Regions from separate parts of the Homo sapiens genome. Here region 2 is linked to region 1. Evidence: promoter capture Hi-C in human tissues and cell types (Jung and others, 2019). All regions are on one chromosome and are shown on one strand. Each heading gives the region's core, a stretch centred on a gene start or on the middle of the fragment in contact. The rest is flanking DNA. Distances are from core to core; before and after follow the strand shown. Region 1 holds the start of ZNF614 (zinc finger protein 614). Region 2 overlaps ZNF468 (zinc finger protein 468).

Evidence for each region. Contacts are between HindIII fragments. The study calls those that stand out against the background at their distance.
Region 2: a fragment that was not itself captured here is called in contact with the fragment with the promoter of ZNF614 in region 1 in 1 of the 25 tissues and cell types used here (pancreas).

Annotation. Positions count from the first base shown.
Region 1 is chr19:52,025,488-52,032,296 of GRCh38, forward strand. It overlaps ZNF614 (zinc finger protein 614), which reads right to left and starts at 2,892. Exons shown (of 5, transcript NM_025040.4): 1 at 2,755-2,892; 2 at 244-474. The coding sequence starts at 258. It overlaps LOC112268244 (a long non-coding RNA gene), which reads left to right and starts at 912. Exons shown (of 2, transcript XR_002958414.2): 1 at 912-1,051; 2 at 1,625-4,293. It overlaps ZNF432 (zinc finger protein 432), which reads right to left. Exons shown (of 5, transcript NM_014650.4): 5 at 5,891-6,809. RefSeq lists enhancers at 1,379-2,149, 2,620-3,379. The HindIII fragment of the contact is 8,645 bases long and covers 1-5,476 here.
Region 2 is chr19:52,833,780-52,840,588 of GRCh38, forward strand. ZNF468 (zinc finger protein 468) reads right to left here. Exons shown (of 4, transcript NM_001008801.2): 4 at 4,231-6,809. Among named protein-coding and RNA genes, the nearest start is that of ZNF28, 16 kb to the left of the region's middle. The HindIII fragment of the contact is 4,394 bases long and covers 335-4,728 here.

The DNA of each region.
Region 1 (6,809 bases), core at 1,642-4,141:
TAATTTTTGTATTTTTTGTAGAGACGGGGTTTCACCATGTTGCCCAGGCTGGTCTTGAACTCCTGAGCTCAAGCGATCCAGAATCTACTTCTTAAGGCAGAATGAACCCCCACCTCTACTCCCAAAAGCAATGTAAGTTAATTTCTCCCTAGAACACAATTATCCCAGTATATACTTCCTTAAGTTCAACTGACTTCTTCAGGCCACCATAAATCTATCAAAAAATCAAAGGGAAAATATCACCTGGGTCTTGATCATTTTCTTCTGTGCTCAGAAAATAGTGGATAACATGGACTATACGTCTTTGTCTCTTCTGCATTTGCCATGAAGTTTTTGAAGTTTTCCTAGTCAGAAATATTAGTGTCCACTTAAAGTTGTCCCCAGAAATTATGATATCCAAGGCCAGCAACCTCCTTCTTCTTCCTTCATTGCTTCACTTGAGTTATTTTGCTTCTGGGAGCCAGGACCTGAGGACTGATAAACAAAATGGCTTTCAGTGTACATTAACCCTGGGTCCAGACATTGTCACTGCTGCTCTGCACTTACCTTAAATAAAAGACCCTAATATTTCTAACAGTTCCTTTATTTGCTGCCTCAGAGGTTTTCATGGTTCTAAATGTGTGAAATCTATGCCTTTCTTTTGTGAAGTAGAAGTGGCATGACTATTATAGAGAAGGTGGGAAAGCAGAACCAGCACAGCACAATGCCTCAGAGGCAGGTGTCTGGGGAAAAGAAAGAGAGATCAGACTGTTACTGTGTCTATGCAGAAAGAAGTAGACATAAGAGGCTCCATTTTGTTCTGTACTAAGAGAAATTCTTCTGCCTTGAGATGCTGTTAATCTGTAACCCTAGCTCCAACCCTATGCTAGCAGAGACATGTGCTGTGTTGACTCAAGGTTTAATGGATTTAGGGCTGTGCAGGATGTGCTTTGTTAAAAACGTGCTTGAAGGCAGTATGCTTGGTAAAAGTCATCACCATTCTCTAATCTCAACTACCCAGAGACACAATACACTGCGGAAGGCCGCGGGGACCTCTGCCTAGGAAAACCAGGTATTGTCCAAGGTTTCTCCCCATATGATAGCCTGAGATATGGCCTCGTGGGAAGGGAAAGACCTGACCGTCCCCTACCCCGACACCTGTAAAGGGTCTCTGCTGAGGAGGATCAGTAAAAGAGGAAGGCCTCTTTGCGGTTGAGATAAGAGAAAGGCATCTGTCTCCTCCTCGTCCCTGGGAATGGAATGTCTCCGTGTAAAACCCCATTGTCTGTTCTATTTACTGAGATAGGAGAAAACCGCCTTAGGGCTGGAGGTGAGACATGCTGGTGGCAATACTGCTCTTTATTGTACCGAAATGTTTGTGTGCGTGCACATCAAGGCACAGCACGTTTCCTTAAACTTATTTATGACACAGAGACCTTTGTTCACATGTTTTCCTGCTGACCCTCTCCCCACTATTACCTTATTGTCCTGCCACATCCCCCTCTCCGAGGTGGTAGAGATAGTGATCAATAAATACTGAGGGAACTCAGAGACCAGTGCCAGCGTGGGTCCTCCGTATGCTGAGTGCTGGTCTCCTGGGCCCACTTTTCTTTCTCTATACTTTGTCTCTTATTTCTTTTCTCAGTCTCTCATCCCACCTGACAAGAAACACCCACAGGTTGTGGAGGGGTGGCCCCCTTCAAGGTGAATTCTCAGACAGATCAATTTTAGGAAAGAGAACACATGGAAGGCTCCAAGAATGTCTTTAAAAACCACGTGTGCCCATGTACTGGTTCGAAAGTCTCTGTAAGCTCTTTGGGTATACATACCTCGTGTCAAGACCAATGTACTAAGCAAATCACAAGAACTGTCTCATTTCACATTATGCGCTAAAGGAGTAACTTTACCCAAGAGAGCTTTGTCCTTTGCCCACAGTTCCTATGAGGCAAACTCTAAGCCTTTGGAATACGCTGCTTGATAAAACTGTCTTTGGTTATCAGGGCAATTTAAGCCATGCCAAATTGTCTATCCTAATAATGTGATTTACTGTGGGAGACCTTGGACCACGTGGTATTAGTTTGATATCTGGAGGAGCTGGAGATTGAAGTCAGCCTCATAGGCAGTCAATTGTGTGTGTGTGTGTTAACTGATATCCAATAAAACTCTGGACACCAAGGCCTAGGTGAGTGGCAACAATGGTTACAATGGCTGGCAATAATAATATAAGGGTGTATATATAAGAATATGATAATTTAAAAACGTATGAAGCAAAACAGAATGAGAGAGGATTAGACAATTCAACAATAATAATTGAAGACTACATTACCCTACTTGCAATAATAAAGAAAACAAATAGAAACTCAGCAAGGATACCGAAAACTTGAACAACATTATCAACCAACTAGACTTAACGAACATTTAACACTGCACTCAACAGCAGTAAAATAAACATTTTTTTCAAGAGCACATGTTATATTCTTCAGGAAAGATAATATCCCATGTGATAGCCTGAGATAGGGCCTCATGGGAAGGGAAAGACCTGACCGTCCCCCAGCCCAACACCCGTAAAGGGTGACTCACAAGGGCCCCAGACCCAGACAGAGTCGGACTCGTCGCTGATTTCCTCAGACTCTTCATCCCTACAGCCAAAGGACCCGTCATTAACGCCCCGCTTCCTCAGCGACTGCGTTCAAATACAGCCCCAATCAGGACGCTCCACGCACCATCGGTACACAGACCCACAGGCCGCGAGTCCATGCCCAGAACTCGACTCACCCGAGCCCGAACCTCTCCAGACACCACTGGCAGCGACAAAACGCCGCATCCACGTCCGAAAACGCTTCCTATTCAGACGCGCTCCTGCGCGGACTCCGGGAAGCTGAGCGGTAAAGACCGTGAAGCGAGGCGAGGACCACGGAGCCTGCCCGGGATCGCGAGTTCAGACTGCGGGCGCCGCTCTATGAGGTCACAGGGCTGCGCCCATCGCAGCGTTTCTGACAGGAGCGGCCATAATGGCTGTGGGAATCACTCTTAGTCACCTCAGTGCCTTTCTCTCTTCGTTGCAAGGGACACTCAAGAGTCGGGTGCCCAGCCAAGGCCAACACGGCGCAGTGGCATTCTATTCAGCCTGCTGTGGAAAAAAGATGGCGGCGCCCTTTGTGCCCATTATAGCTGAGAGTGGAGCCTTAGCTGGAGCACCATGGGCACGGCCATCTTAGAGGAAGGCAGCAGCCGTACGGCAGAGAAGATGCTCATATCCAGGACAATTTGGAAAAATAAACAAGGTTTGAAGAAGTCACGGTGCTGGCCAGGAAGCGGTCACAGAGTTGCCAAAACCAGTGGTCACTGAAAGTGTTAGATTTGGGGATAGGGCGGGGGTTCTGGGCTGGGTAAGGCTTTTGTGGGTTAGATTAGACTCTGACTGAATGGACGAAGCCGAGAACAGGAGTGATGCTCCATTAAATGCTAATACCCACATGGGGCTTGCTATTAAAACCACTGCCAGTGGGGAAGGGGATGAGGAGGTGAAGGTGCAACTGTGTTAATATCTACATGTTTCCTTCCAGAAGTAAAGGAAGATGACAGTGGGGCACTTAAGAATATGAAATTATTAGAATGCGATCATCCTACTTTGCAATGTTTCCAGATTTTTTAAAAAGTCACACTTAAAAAATATTAGTTCTATTTTTGCAGATGTTGGCGTTGTAACTGTAGAAGATTTAAGTAAATATTGTATTTTTGGAAGGCAACCTAGAGCCAATTTAATTTTTTCGTTTTCTTTGACACAGCAATTCTAAAAGCTATCTAGGCAAATCTGTCTTAATATTAACCACAACTTTTGTAATTTACAAAAAAAGGGAATTACAATGAGAGATGAATACTTTGGTAAATTATGGAACATCTGCTGAACTGTAAGAGTATATATCAATTTAAAAGAATATGCTACAATTGTTTTATAAAAAAGAAAACTTTGTCAGAGGACAAAAAAATGATCTGCAGGATAGTATATATTTTATGGTCTTGTTATTGGAAGAAATCATAAACATCTTTTGGAAAATTGTGATTGGTTAAACAAGACATTTAGTTTGAATTAATATTGTTTGTGTTCATAGGTAGAGAATGCCATGTTTTTACTTGAAAAATATTCCCAATTTATACTTAATTTTACTATCTTTGTACCATAATCATGAATATATTATAAAACATGTTGATCTTAGAAAATAGGTATGATGATGTATAATAAGTTCATGGCATGATAAATGCAAAATAGGCTGTTTTCTTTCAGAAAATAAATATGCTCATGCATTTGAAAAATTCTGGAGAATATACTAACAATATTTGACTGTTCCGTACAATTATGGTGACTTAAAATTTCTTCATTTTACTTACGTTTTGTAATTTCTAGAGAATAAGAATTTCATGTTCGTATTTCTTGAGTGTTATAACATATTCCATCCAGGATTAAATTTCAGCCCCGTTCATCTGGAATGTTAATCTCTGGTAGGTAAGTTTAGCACCTGGTCCACAGGACTATGAGCAGCCCATGATGGGACCTTCACTGATCATTTCCAGGAGTGGGCTGATAAAACTTTGCCGTGGCAGGCTGTGCTGATTCACGGGACAAGGAAGGTGATTCAAGGGCCTGGTTGGTGGAGCACTTTTGTCTGATTCATTGCTGGAGACAATCTGCCCTGAATCCATCCTGTTACAGTGTGGGAATGGTGATGGGAGCACCAATCCACAATTTAGGGCAGAGATGTTCAAATTTAAGAAGGCTCTTTTTATAAATGCAGAGTCCGAACCCCATCCCCAGAAATTCTAGCTTGGAATGTCTGGGGAGTGACTCAAGAATTTGCCTTCTTTTACAAGCTTCTCAGAGAATGCTGAGGCAGGAACCCCAAAGAAAACACTTAGAAAGTTCTATAGTGTTCTGGACTTAAAAATATGATGGCTGTGTCCCCACAGTATATTTAGGCTTTGGTTCAAATTATATCTGCACAGAAAAGCCTATCCTGAAAACTCTTCCTAAAATAACTCAGGTTACAATCTATGAACTTACCAGGCTTTATATTTCTTCCTAGCACTTAACTGAATTCGATTTTGTATTTATCTTACTCAGTCTCCTTCACCAGACTGTATGTCATATCAAAGCCAGCACTTTGCCTGTTTTGTTCATTGATGTGTCTCCATTGCCTACAACATGCCTGCCATGGTGTAGAAGCTCAAAAAATATTTTCAAAGAAGTAAATTACTCAATATGGAGTCAGGGATTGAATTCTGCCACAATACTATATGGCAAATGTCTATTACTTTTATAAAGAGAACTCACCATTTATAAACTGGATTAAATCTCATTAGATCAAGGGAAATAACTCTGGATAGAGAAAACAGGAACCCTGTTTCTAGGGAAACTAATAATTTTTTGCCACCAGGCCTGCTCAAAGAGAAATGATTAAGGAAGTTCGCACAAAAAGGAAATAACTAAAGGAAATATTACATCAGGAATGAAGAAAAAGGAACAGAAAGGGTAAATATATTATAAAATATAATATTCTTTTGAGTTTTAAACATTGGGTTTGCTGGTTGGAAGCAAAAGTTACAATTTTACTTGATATGGTTCTCAGTGGATGTAGAGATGCTTAATATCATTTTGTGTTAGGGGTGTGTAAGTTGAGGCCATGATCATATACCACCACACACCTAATAGGAAAGCTAAAGCACACTGGCAATGCCAAGAGCTAGAAAGGGCATGGAATGCTTACACATTGGTGGTGGGAATGTAAACTAGTACAGCCACTCTGGGAAAGAGTTTGGCCATTTCTTATAAAGTTAAACACATTTACCATATTCGCCAGCAGTCATGCCCCCAGTGTCTATCCCAAATATATAAAAACTTAACGTTCGCACAATATCGGGTACACAAATAGTCACAGCATCTTTATTTATAACAGCAAAACACTGGAAACAACCCAAATGTCCATCAACAGTGAATGGATACACAAACCCTGGTGCATCCATTTAAAAGAATACTAACTCAGTAACAAAAATTAAAACTATTTAGACACCTAACAACTTGGATAGATCTTAAGGGTAATTTGCTGAGTGAACAAAGCCCTATCTCAAAGCTTGCGTACCTTACGATTCCATTTTAATAGCATTCTTGAAATAACAAAATTAGGGTAATGGGATCAGTGGCTACCATGGGTCATATTGGGAGGACAGTGTGAGTATAAAGAGGTAGCAAGAGGAGGCCAGGCGTGGTGGCTCATGCCTGTAATCCCAGCACTTTGGGAGGCTGAGGCGGGTGGACCGCCCGGGGTCGAGAGTTCAAGGCCAGCCTGGCCAACACAGTGAAACCCCGTCTCTACTAAAAATACAAAAATTAGTCGAGCGTGGTCGTGGGTGCCTGTAATCCCAGCTACTTAGGAGGCTGAGGCAGGAAAATCTCTTGAACCTGGGAGGCGGGGTTGCAGTGAGCCAAGATCGTGCTATTACACTCCAACCTGGGCAACAAGAGCAGAACTCCGTGGTTTTTATTATTATGGTTATGTAAGATAACATTGATGATGCTAAGCAAAGAATACTCAGGAAACTTTTGTATATTTTGTAATCTCTTGTGAATCTAGAATTATTTCAAAACAAATTTTAGAAAAATAACATTTAAGGCATTTTTGTAAACTACATAATGGTACCTAGTAACTTGGATAAACACATCCAAATATACTGAATTACATTTATCAGTAAATTGAAAAAAATAAATTTGGGGCCTATAATATGTAAGAACTAATAAATAACACCAGATTGGCACAGAAAACACCTGTGTTATATAT
Region 2 (6,809 bases), core at 1,282-3,781, 810 kb after region 1:
CGGAAGACCTACAAGTGTATGTTTGACCCCAGTCTTCAGATCTCGCCCCCCTCCTGGAGAAGCCACCACACACGAGGCAGCAGTGGGGAGCTGGGCTGGACTGATCTCCTCTTCAGGGCACACACTCATCCCTGATCAAACCCCATCCAGAGGACAACCCCTCACTTCTCTGTGGATCACAGGCTGAGCTCAGCCCCCAGAAATGGAGGACTCAGAGCTTCGATGCTCAATGCTGCACACAGATGACAAGCAACTGCGCCACTGCAGGTATTACTGAGGGTGGGTTCCATCCCATCAGAATAAGAATCCCTGCTAAAGCAGCACAAAAGCTCTATTTGCAAAATGCCTCTAGACTCTAATGTGAAGCCAGGGTTGAGCTCCACTCAGAGGGGGTGAGCCCAGCACAGCCCCACATTCTGGCTCTGCCCTCCCCTTGGGGCCTTGTTCTCACCAGGATCCAGACAGTGGATGACAAAGGCACAAAAATAATCACACAGAACAGGCAACGTGGACGAGAGGTGGGGTGAATGATGGGCTGTGTGAAAGGAAATAAATCTGTGAGCCCCCAAATCATTAAGCAAAAGGCAAAAGTCAAGCTGGGAACTGCTTAGGGAACCAGACTCCCCTTCTATTCAAAGTCACCCCTCTGCTCCCTGATATAGATGCATGTCTGAGTGCCTCCTTCAAAAGGCTAATCAGAAACTCAAAAGAAGGGCCCAGCACAGTGGCTCATGCCTGTAATCCCAGCACTGTGGGAGGCTGATGCAGTGAGCTGAGATCATACCACTGCACTCCAGCCTGGGCAACAAAATGAGACTTCATCTCAAAAAAACAAAACAAAACAAAACAAAAACTTAAAAGATTGCAACCATCTGTGCCTCATTTATCTGTGACCTGGAAGTCACCTCCCTGCTTGAACCTGGGAGAAGGAGGTTGCAGTGAATCGAGATCTATAGGGTCCAGCCCTTTGGGGCTTAGTGGGTGTTCTCCCCATGTGCAGAGACAAGAGATTGTAATAAATAAAGACAGAAGACAAAGAGATAAAGAGAAAACAGCTGGGCCCGGGGGACCACTACCATCAAGACGTGGAGACCAGCAGTGGCCCCAAATGGCTGGGCGCGCCGATATTTATTGCATACAAGACAAGGGGGCAGGGTAAGGAGGGTGAATCTTCTAAGTGATTGATAAGGTGAAGCAAATCATGTGATCACAGGACAGGGGGCCCTTCCCTCTTAGGTAGCCGAAGCAGAGAGAGAAGGCAGCATACGTCAGCGTTTTCTTCTATGCACTTATAAGAAAGATCAAAGACTTCAAGACTTTCACTATTCCTTCTACCGCTATCTACTACGAACTTCAAAGAGGAGCCAGGAGTACGGGAGGAGCATGAAAGTGGACAAGGAGCATGACCATTGAAGCACAGCACCACAGGGAGGGGTTTAGGCCTCCGGATGACTGCGGGCAGGCCTGGATACTATCCAGCCTTCCACGAGAAGCTGGTGGAGCAGAGTGTTCCCTGACTCCTCCAAGGAAAGGAGACCCCCTTTCGTGGTCAGCTAAGTAACAGGTGCCTTCCCAGACACTGGCGTTACCGCTTGACCAAGGACCCCTCAAGCGGCCCTTATGCGGGCGTGACAGAGGCCTCACCTCTTGCCTTCTAGGTCACTTCTCACCATGTCCCTTCAGCACCTGACCCTATACCTGCCGGTTATTCCTAGGTTATATTAGTAATGCAACAAAGAGTAATATTAAAAGCTAATGATTAATAATGTTTATAATAATGATTGATAATTGTCCATGATCATCTCTATATCTAATTTGTATTATGACTATTCTTATTCTAACTATTTTCTCTATTATACTGAAACAGTTTGTGCCTTCAGTCTCTTGCCTCAGCAGCTGGGTGATCCTCCACCCACAGAGATAAAGCCCTGCACTACAGCCTGGGCGAGAAGAGCCAAACTCCAACACACACACAAAGAAAGAATTTCAGAAGTGATGTATCTTCTCAGTCCTTTCATGTATACATGCAAATTTCTCTTTACATTACAAATTACAACACTTACAAATAAAGTAATTTATTTCCCATATTTAAAATACATGCTGTCAAGTTCGGCTAAGTTTCCGGACGTACACAGTCACCCTCATCTGAGATGTGCAGACTGCAAGGGAATGTGTTTGGGGGTTTAGGAAGTCACTTTTGGACATGTGAAGGTGGAGATGCCTGTTTGATGTCCCAGCAGAGAGGTGAGCAGACAACTGCACACAGGATTGTAGAGCTCAGTGGAGAGGCCTGCAGGGGACATGGGTAGGTGGGTTAAAGCTGTGAGATGAGATAAGGAAAAGCAGTGGGTGTGGACAGAGACAAGAATAGGTTCAAGACAATTTGAGTCAAATCTCTTGTTTTTTCCATTCCGGTATTTTTGTTTTTTACATTTTTGTAGGACAGGAATCTATTAAAAATTCAAATTACACCTGAGCATCACCCTCTCCTAAAGGAAAAGCCACAAACTATTTGACAAAGTATTTCAGGGGTCAGTGTCACTCTGACTGAGCTTTTCTGGTCTCATTCCTCACCTGTACATTACTGGTTGAGTCACTGTTGTTTCGAGCAGGAGATACTTCACCAAAAGTACAAAAAATTAGCCAGGCGTGGTGGTGTGCATCTGTGGTCTCAGCCATTTAAGAACTGACTGGGGTGGATATTTGGGCCTGGGAGGCAGAGGTTGCGTTAAGCCAAGATCGTGTCACTGCATGCAAGTATGGGTGACCGAGTGACACCCTGTCTCAAAAAAAGAAAGAAAAAAAAACATTCCAGGACAATTTTATACACCTGAGCAAATGAAATGTCTCTTTCAATGTCTAAGGTCCTGATGGCATGAATCCTAAACATGTAATTATTTTCCCAGAAAAATGACAGTAGTACATTCAAAATACACACAACTGTGAACCCCTAGCTATAGGTGTTTAAAACACTGAAAGAGAAGCAGCATTACAAATGAGATCTGAACAAATGTTTTCTTCTTGAACACACGGGCTTTGCTGGAACAAGGTTCCAAGTCAATTCTGCCCATCCTTGAACATCTGCAAAAAATATTATGGACCAGAGGAACTTGAGGGGAACGTTTACTTAGCAGCTCACAGCTCACCATTTTATCAGGTGACATAAAGAAAGAAAATGGAATAATAGGCTACTTCAACTAAATTTTGATGTTAGCATAAAGAAAAAGTTCCTTGATATCTTTATCAAGTACACATTGAAACAAACTAAAATCATTTATCAGGTACCAGAAAATGTTTCCAATGTATGATACAGACTAGAAAGCATGCCGTCCTCAATGTAAACTGAACACAATAAATTTCAGAGAAAAACAGTTTTAAAATGGTTAAAAAATATATCTAATGAAATGTGGGGTCATAGAAGAATATTTTGAACACATATTATAGTTGCAAAACAATGATGTTACCTCATAAGATTATATCAAAGCTTTTTTGAGAAGCAGTATTTTATTTATTTTATTTTTTTTATTTTATTTGAGACAGAGTCTTGCTGTGGCCCAGCTGGACTGCAGTTGTGCGATCTCGGCTCACTGCAACCTCTGCTTCCAAAATGAAAGCCATTCTTCTACCAGCCTCCCGAGTAGCTGTGTTACAGGCACTCGCCACACCAAGCTAATTCCTACATTTTAGTCAACATTGTCTTGTCCCAACTTAAAATGACTTATGCATTTACAAAACAGTGATTTCTTTGGGGCATCGCCCCCATAACCTTTTCATAAAGCATTAATGATTTCATTGTTCCTCTACCCAAATTTCACCATATTCATTTTTTGAGACACTGTCTGTCTCTGTCACCCATGCTGGAGTACAGTGGCATGATCACGGCTCCCTACAGCCTCTAACTCCCAGGCTCAAGCCATCCTCCCACTGCAGTCTCCACAGAAGCTGAACCAGCAGGCATGTGCCACCATGCCTAGCTAATTTATGTATTTTTTGTAGAGAAGGGGGTTTCAACATTCTGCCCAGGCTGGTCTTGAATACCGGGGCTCACGTGACCCACCTGTCTCGGCCTCTGAAAGTGCTTGGATTACAGGCCTGAGCCACTGCATCTGCTCTCATCATAAATTTGATGTTTCTTCTTGTTTCAATTTTAGCAAAATTTACACTGCTTTCTTTTTTCAAACTCATGTCTTCCCCTTCTGAGTGCCTCAAACTAGACCCTGTTCAGACATGTTATAACAGATTTGTGCCAGTTTATTTTGGTGCAGAAAATGTGACATCATGTGCAATTTTCACATAATATGTATTTTTTTCATGAACTTCTTGAAGACCCCTTGTACTAGCGAACTGTATTCAAGAGGATATTAAAAGGATTGTAGATATGCAAGTGCCACTTATTTCTGGGATGCAAGGATGGTTCAACATAGTCAAGCAAATCAATGTGATATACCACTTGAACACAATGAAAGATGAAAACCACATCATCTCAATACATGGAGAAAAAGCATTTCACAAAAGTCAACATCAAGTCATCATAGAAATCCCACACAAAATAGATACAGAAGAAAATTTACCTCAGCAATACAAAGACCATCCATGAAATGACCACAGCAGAAATAACCAATCAGGGAAAACGGAATGCTTTTCCTGTAGGATCTCACATGATGCAAGAATGCTCTCACCCCTTCTATTCAATCAATACTGGCTGTCCTAGCCAGAACAATGAAATAGCAAAAGAAATCAAACTCATCCAAATCAGAAAGAAAGAAGTCAAATTTTATTTGTTTGTAGATGACATGACCTTCTGTAAAGAAAATCACAAAGAGTCAGCCAAAATGCAACTGGAACTAACAAACACATTCAGTTTATTTGCAGAATAGAATAACAGCACCAAAAATTAGTTGAATTTCCATACATTAACAATAAATAATTTTAAAAGAAAATTAAAAACCAATTCCATTTGCTAAAGAACTTAAAGTAAGAAATATTTAGGAATAAACATAAAAAGTGAGGTTTGTACCTTGAAATCTATAAACATTGATCAAAATGATTAAAAACATGTATAAATAGATATAAATCCCATACTGATTGGAAAAATGAATATCGCTCAATGATTATATACTCAATTGTGATTTAGATTCGGTACAATACTCATAGAAGTCTCTATAACTTTTTGTTAAAGAAACAAAAAACAGGCCAGGCACAGTGGCTCACTCCTGTAATCTCAGCACTTTGGGAGGTGGAGTCGGGTGGATCATAAAGTCAGAAGATAGAGACCATTCTGGCTAACACGGTGAAACCCAGTCTCTACTAAAAACACAAAAAATTACCCAGGTGTGGTGGCACACAACTGTAGTGTCAGCTACTTGGGAGACTGAGGCAGGAGAATTGCTTGAACCTGGGAGGAGGAGGTTGCAGTGAGCTGAGATCGTGCCACTGCACTCCAACCTGGGCGACAGAGCAAGACTCCATCTCAAAAAAAAAACAAGAAAAAGAAAATAAAGGCTGGGAAAAGTAGCTCCCATCTGTTGGCTAGGCTGTTCTCAAACTCGTGAGCTCCAGTGACCTACCTGTCTTTGCCTCTCAAAGTGCTGGAATTACAGGCATGAGCCATGGCCCCCAGTGCAATCCTCTTAACATAAACAGTTTAATGGCAATTAATGCTTGAAATCAATGTTAAATCAACAAACTCAGGTCAAGGCTGATTTGACTCTAATGTCAATTAATGCTTGATGGTTTGCTATACTCACTGCATTTGAAACAACTGTCTCCAAAAGGAATTGTCTGATGGTCTGCAAGGAGTGACCTTGGACTGAAGACCCTTCCACACTGATGACATTTGTAAGATTTCTGTCCAGCATGGATTCTCTGATGTCTAATGAGGTGTGAATGTGAAGTAAACGCTTTGCCACAATCATCACACTTGTGAGGTTTCTCTCCTGTATGAATCCTCCTATGTTTTGCATAGGATGAAGCTTGACTGAAGACCTTGCCTCAATCATGACATTTATAAGGTTTCTCTCCAGCATGAGTTCACCAGTGAAATGCAAGGCATGAACGATGTCTGAAAAATTTGCCACATTTATTACACTTGTAAGATCTCTTCACTGTGGATTCTCCAATGATGTGCAATGGTTGTAGCATTACTGAAAACTTTGTGACAATCATTACATTAGTCAAGTTTCCCTATACCATGGATTGCTTGATGGTGAATAAGTGGTGACTGCCCACTAAAGGGTTTGCCACACTCATTGCACTTGTAAGGTTTCTCTCCAGTGTGAATTCTAGTATGGGGTGCCACGTGTGAATCATTCCCGAAAGCCTTGTCACAAACCTTACATTTCTATGGCTTTTCTCCAGTGTGAATTCTCCTATGTATTTGAAGCTGGATTTGTGAATGAAAACTTTGTCACATTGTTCACGTTTGTAAGATTTCTATGCAGTATGAAGTCTATGATGACTTGCAAGGTGTGATTGTTGATTAAAAACCATGTCACATTCATTGTGCTTGTAAGGTTTCTCTCCACTATGAATTACAAGGTGTGAATTTTGACCTTTTAATTACAAGGTGTGAATTTTGACCAACGGTCTTGCCACACTCATTACACTTATAATGAGTTTCTCTCCAGTGTGAATTCTAGTATGTTTTGCCAGATATGCATTATATGCAAAAACCTTGTCACAAACCTTACCTCTGTATGGTTTCTCTTCAATGTGAATTTTCTTATGTGTTTTAAGGTTTGATTTACAACTGAAAACTTTTGTCACATTCCTCCCATTTGTAAGGTTTCTCTCCAGTATGAAGTCTATGG